Regions from separate parts of the Homo sapiens genome. Here region 2 is linked to region 1. The links are contacts of gene promoters, found by promoter capture Hi-C in human tissues and cell types (Jung and others, 2019). All regions are on one chromosome and are shown on one strand. The core of a region is centred on a gene start or on the middle of the fragment in contact, and the rest is flanking DNA. Distances in the headings are between cores, read along the strand shown. Region 1 holds the start of RECQL5 (RecQ like helicase 5). Region 2 has its middle 18 kb from the start of SLC16A5.

Evidence for each region. Contacts are between HindIII fragments. The study calls those that stand out against the background at their distance.
Region 2: a contact is called between a fragment that was not itself captured here and the fragment with the promoter of RECQL5 in region 1, in 1 of the 25 tissues and cell types used here (hippocampus).

The regions. Positions count from the first base shown.
Region 1 is chr17:75,665,887-75,669,186 of GRCh38, reverse strand. RECQL5 (RecQ like helicase 5) reads left to right here and starts at 2,033. Exons shown (of 20, transcript NM_004259.7): 1 at 2,033-2,143; 2 at 2,616-2,759. The coding sequence starts at 2,630. It overlaps SAP30BP (SAP30 binding protein), which reads right to left and starts at 1,849. Exons shown (of 11, transcript NM_013260.8): 1 at 1,709-1,849; 2 at 562-671. The coding sequence starts at 1,814. RefSeq lists enhancers at 1,608-1,857, 2,028-2,127, 1,709-2,908. The HindIII fragment of the contact is 12,020 bases long and covers 1-3,300 here.
Region 2 is chr17:75,068,221-75,071,181 of GRCh38, reverse strand. No RefSeq gene overlaps it. Among named protein-coding and RNA genes, the nearest start is that of SLC16A5, 18 kb to the left of the region's middle. The HindIII fragment of the contact is 6,760 bases long and covers 1-2,961 here.

The sequences.
Region 1 (3,300 bases), core at 784-3,283:
AGGATCACTTGCGCCCAGGAGTTCAAGACTGTAGTGAACTATCTATGATCACACCACTGCACTCCAATCTGGACAGCAGAGTGAGACCCTATCTCAAAAAAAAAAAAGAAAAGAAAAAGCAGGTGAAAACGAATTTTCCTTTCTTATCTTGTTAATAAACTGAGAAGACTTAAATGAGCCCCAACCAAGATTAAAAATAATGCAGAGTTGACTGTAGATATAAATGATACACCAGTTAGGATGAATGCCTGCTATAAATGGAGTAAATCATTTAAACAGGGAAAAATCAACATAAAACACCCATTGATATCTGGGTTAAATAAAATAATCCACTATCTTTTCCCCCAAATTTCAATTCAAAGATTAATAAAAAATGATCCATGTGAAAATACATTTTCAAACAGATCTGATATCCAATCCAGTTTCTTCCACTAATACTAAAACAAAACGGGAGAGCAAGGGATGGAGCTAACCATGAAATGGAACACTGTTGGCACAGTTCCAAAATCTGACAAATGAAATTGTGCTTTCAGTAGCTCTGGATCTGGGAGATTTACCTACCGACTGTCTACTGTTCTCATCTTCTTCTTCTTCATAACCATCTTCATCACCCCCTAGACGAGAAAAGTCATCCTCCCCATAGGCATCAGATACCAATCCGCCTTTCTCCTCTGAAAGGTTAAAAAACAAACAAACAAACAAAAAGCAAGAAAAAAAAAACAAGAGTTACAATGTAAGAAAAAATGTCCAGAGATTTGAGTGGCCAAGACTATCTCTGAAGATACAAAGGGAACCTAAATCTCATGTTAAGTTACAATAGGCCCAGATTCGGCTCTCTGAGAAGGCCAGCATTTACTGAATAAAATCATTAAAAGGTCAGGGAACAAAACCGAGTACTAAATTCTGTTTCTAATGCTATAAACACTAGATAAACACTAAAGTGTTTATAGGAAACCATCAGAGAACTTTCTGACTGGAAGAGACCACACAAAATCACAAAACATGGAAGTACCTAACCTAATCCAATCCCCTTCACTTTCCAGATGAGGAAGCTAAGGTCCTGATATGTTGTTAGGTAACTTGTTCTTTATTCTCCCAAAGGAATCTGTTTCCATTATCTAACATTGTGCTTCTCAACCTGAGGAGGAGAACATCACCGTTAGGCTTTAAAAACTCACAAAATAAGAAAAATCACCTGGGATCCTTAAAAAGTTCACAAATGCCCACATCCTACCCCAGTTCTACCGAATTAGGTTCTCTCACTTTGGGCATCAGATACGTTTGTTTTTAAAAGCTCCAAGATGTGTTTAGGGCACATTCCTAACTAAAAGTTATAAAGTTAACGAACACAATCTTTACCATCTTCCACGTATGTTTTACTTATCGCTCTCCCTCATCAAACAACGAGCCCAGGGGAAACAGGCAGTGGCTGAGCAGCCGCTCCCTCTTCGTCCATCCCTCTGTCTATCACTATAGCCGGCACGGAGTCTTTCAGTAAGTTTAGGCAAATTAATCGAAATAACGGGAAGGAGATTCTTCATTCTTAGTCCACAGTCTCTAATGCTCTATCTCACCCCGGACCCTGGACCATTCTTCGGGGTCCGGTGCTTGGAGCACAATGACCATCTTGTTCCCTCCCGCCCAGCGAGGGTACAGCATTCCGGGCAGACACCCGATTCCCCCTTCCAGCTTCGCACTTGGGCCTTACCAGCCGCGCTGCCCACCGCCTCGATTCCAGCCTCGCCATCAGACTCGGGCTCTGAATCTTCCGCGTAAACTGCGAGAGACGACAGAACATTCTTCTTCCCCGCCATCTTATTCCCACAGCCCGGGCGTGGCTCACTCCTATGACTCAAGACGCCGACTTCCGGGCGGAAAGGCAGGTTCTTTCGGATCCCAGGAGACCCCCGCGCCACACTGGAAACCAATCAAAACGGCAGTTTCCTGCGCCTGGCTCCGCCCTCATGCCAGCGCTCGCGCTACGTCATCACTGCGCGACGGATATAAGATTGCGTGGGTTCTGCCTAAAGCTGAATTCCCAGCGCTTTGGCTTCTCTGAGTTGGGGTTGTGTATAGGGGTCTTCGAACAGTTCCGGAACCAGCCAGCAGCCTTTAATTCTTGGGCGGACCACGGCCGGTTCTGATATCTTAGGGTGAAGAGAGGGAGGTGTCGGCCAGCCAAGAGAGAAAATTGCGGATCTTGGGCTCAGGAAGACGGGAGAAGGGGTTCGGGGTCCCGGGGTGGAAGAACGGTCGTCGTGGTTGCGCTTATAGAAGTAGGAGCAGGTGGTGGATCTTAGGAAAACGGTTCCCCGTTCTCCAAGCTGTTCTGAAGACATTTATGTTTCTTCTCTTGATCTGATTTCTAGCTCTGTGCTATACCGTGGCCTGGAATAGTTCAATGTTTTCATTTTCATTGAGCGTAAAAGTGGAGATGTTAATTACTGAGGAATGTATTGCTTGAGGCAGTTCACCTTCAGCTTTATTACTTAAAAATAATACATTATTTAAGTGTAATATAGCAAATTGTTACAGAAAAATAATCTGTATTTTTAATGCAAAACAGAGGGTTCTCGTGGCAACCTTTTACTACCTTTGCCTTAACCTTTGGCCACTGTTCTTGGCTAAGATGAGCAGCCACCATACCACCTTTCCTTTTGACCCTGAGCGGCGAGTCCGGAGTACGCTGAAGAAGGTCTTTGGGTTTGACTCTTTTAAGACGCCTTTACAGGAGAGTGCGACCATGGCTGTAGTAAAAGGTAACATTACCAAGCTACCTTCCTTTAAATTTATGCTGGCTATACCATAACGCTGCGGCAGAACACCCTCCTCCTCACCCTTCGTACTGCCTCACCTTTGGTCCATAACTGGATTTGGAAATCTTTAGAGTTGTCAAAGCTTGTAGTTTCGTTTATTTGTTTTAATTAGAGATGGGGTCTTGGCATGTTGCTCAGGCTGGTCTCCAAATCCTGGGCTCAGGCAATCCTCCCACCTCGGCCTCCCAAGGTGCTGGGATTACAAGCATGAGCCACCACGCCCGGCCCAAAGCTTGTAGTTTTAGTGGCAGAACCACCCAGCTGGTCTATATTTCATAGCTAGATTTACACATGGTCTTTGAAAACACTTCAGATTCTCATTATTGTTCGTTTGTACACACAAACGAACAGCAACAGTGAGGGTGGTAGGAATAACTTAACTCGGTCACTGGCCTCCTAGGTAATTCCCTTGTTGCAGGTTGAGTGGCCTTGGTCCCAGATAGAGAAGGAAAGAGTAATAATGTTATAAACCTGAGATACGGTG
Region 2 (2,961 bases), core at 102-2,601, 600 kb after region 1:
CTTGAACCTTGGAGGTGGAGGTTGCAATGGGCCAAGATGGTGCCACTGCACTCCAGCCTGGGCAACAGAGCAAGACTCCATCAAAAAAAAAAGAGAGAAAGAGAGAGAAGGAAAGAAAGAAAGAGAGAAAGAAAGAAAGAGAAAGAAAGAAAGAAAGAAACAGAAAGAAAGAAAGGAAGGAAGAAAGAAGAAAGAAAGAAAGAAAGAAAGAAAGAAAGAAAGAAAGAAAGGCCTCAACCACCCAGGCTCAAGCAATCCTTTTACCTCAGCCTCGAAAGAAAGAAAGAAGGAAGGCAGGCAGGCAGGCAGGCAGGCAAGCAAGCAAGCAAGCAAGCAAGCCTTGACCTTCCAGGCTCAAGCAATCCTTTCACCTCAGCCTCCCAAGTACCTGGGTTTATAGGTATGAGCCACCTCTCCTGGCCAAGCATATATTTTTTTCTTTTTTTGAGACAGGGTTTCTCACTCTGTTGCCCAGGCTGGAGTACAGTGGCACAATCATAGCTCCCTGCAGCCTCGAATACGATCCACCTGCCCCGGCCTCCCAAAGGGCTGGGATTACACAAATGAGCTACCACATCTGGCCGATATTTTATTTTTATTTATTTATTTGTTTTTGAGACAGAGTCTCACTCTGTTGCCCAGGTTGGAGTGCAGTGGCGTGATCTTGGCTCACTACAACCTCCACCTCCCGGGTTCAAGTGATTCTCCTGCCTCTGCCTCCTGAGTAGCTGGAATTACAGGCACCTGCCGCCATGCCTGGCTCATTTTTGTATTTTAGTAGAGACGGGGTTTCACCATATTGGCTGGGCTTGTCTCGAACTCCTGACCTCAGGTGATCTGCCCACCTTGCCTTCCCAAAGTGCTGGGATTACAGGCGTGAGCCACCACGCCCGGCCCCAGTCTTTTTTTTTTTTTAATTGGGCAGTCCTCTGAATCAGAGTAAGTTCAGAAAGATTCTAGGAAAACCATGATCTTAATGAAAGTATTTAAGTAAAAATTAAAATGAAAATATAAAACTTAGAAGCAATTTAATTGCCCTGTATAGAAAATTGATCAAGGAATTAATCTGGCTTCATGGAGTAACAGTTTACTCCAGGGGAAAGCTTTACTGATGAAAATCTTTCTGTGTGGTATGACTCTTATTAAAAATTTAGCTCTGTGCTGCCACCTGGGCTTTATGGCTGGGGAGATCCAGTGATACTGAAATTATCTCCTGCCAGTACAGATGCTGTATCAGAGCCTCCTGCAAGTCCCAACTGGACTGTGGCCATGCAGAACTCCAGGGTTCTGGGCAGGTCCATGTCCTCTTTTGCAAGTAACTATTTCACTGGGCCCTGACCGAGATGGAACACCTAGTTCATGGGACATCAAGTGACCCTGTGGCCTGAGCTGCCCGTCACCAACTAGGTGTTGTGTATTACACCAACCGAATTAGGAGTAATTAACAAAAATTTTTTTCTTTTGTAGAGACAGGTCTTGCTATGTTGCCCAAGATGGTCTTGAACTCCTGGCCTCAAGCAATCCTCTCACCTCAGCCTCCCAAAGTGCTGGGATTACAGGTGTGGGCCATGGTAACTGGCCAATTTTTTTTTTTTTTTTTAAGAGACAGGTTCTGGCTGGGCATAGTGGCTCACGCCTGTAATCCCAGCACTTTGGGAGGCCGAGCCGGGTGGATCACGAGGTCAGGAGATCAAACCATCCTGGCCAACATGGTAAAACATTGTCTCTACTAAAAATACAAAAATTAGCTGGATGTGGTGGCACACGCCTGTAATCCCAGCTACTCGGGAGGCTGAGGCAGGAGAATCGCTTGAACCTGGGAGGCGGAGGTTGCAGTGAGCCTAGATGATACCATTGCACTCCAGCCTGGGCAACAAGAGTGAAACTCCGTCTCAAAAAAAAAAAAAGAGAGACAGTGTCTCACTCTGTCTCTCAGGCTAGAGGGCACAGCTCACTGCAGCTTTGAAATCCTTGGCTCAAGTGATCCTCCCACCTCAGCCTCCTGAGTAGCTGGAACTACAGGCATGTGTCACCACGCCTGGCTAATTAAAAAAAAAATTTTATAGATGGGGCCTATGTTGCCCATCCTGGTCTTGAACTCCTGGCCTCAAGCAGTCCTCCCACTTCAGCTTCCCAAAGTACTGGGATTCCAGGTGTGAGCCTGGCAATTAGGAGCAATTAACATAGCTCAGAAATAGTGACTGTCTCTGAGACAGGGATACAATGACTTGGCACTTCGTGTTTATTTTGGAGGGAAGGAGAGATTATTTTTGCTTGTAGAAGGGTAGTTGTATCTTGTTCCATGGAGGCATGAAGTTGTTTTTTCACCACGTTTTTTTTTCTTTTTTTCCGAGTCGGAGTTTCGCTCTTGTTGCCCAGGATGGAGCGCAATGGCATGATCTCGGCTTACTGCAACCTCTGTCTCCTGAGTTCAAGCGATTTTCCTGCCTCAGCCTCCAGAGTACCTGGGATTACAGGCACCCGCCACCACGCATAGCTAATTTTTTTTTTTTTTTTTTTTTGAGACGGAGTCTCGCTCTGTCGCCCAGGCTGGAGTGCAGTGGCGCGATCTTGGCTCACTGCAAGCTCCACCTCCCGAGTTCACGCCATTCCCCTGCCTCAGCCTCCCGAGTAGCTGGGACTACAGGTGCCCACCACTACGCCCAGCTAATTTTTTGTATTTTTAGTAGAGACAGGGTTTCACCGTGTTAGCCAGGATGGTCTCCATCTCCTGACCTCGTGATCCACCCGCCTTGGCCTCCCAAAGTGCTGGGATTACAGGCGTGAGCCACCGCGCCCAGCCTAATTCTTTGTATTTTTAGTAGAGACGGGGTTTCATCATGTTGGCCAGGCTGGTCTCAAACTCCTGACCTCAAGTGATCCACCTGCCTTGGCCTCCCAAAGTGCTGGGATTATAGGCATGAGCCACCACACCCAGCATTTTTCACCATCCTATGCAAG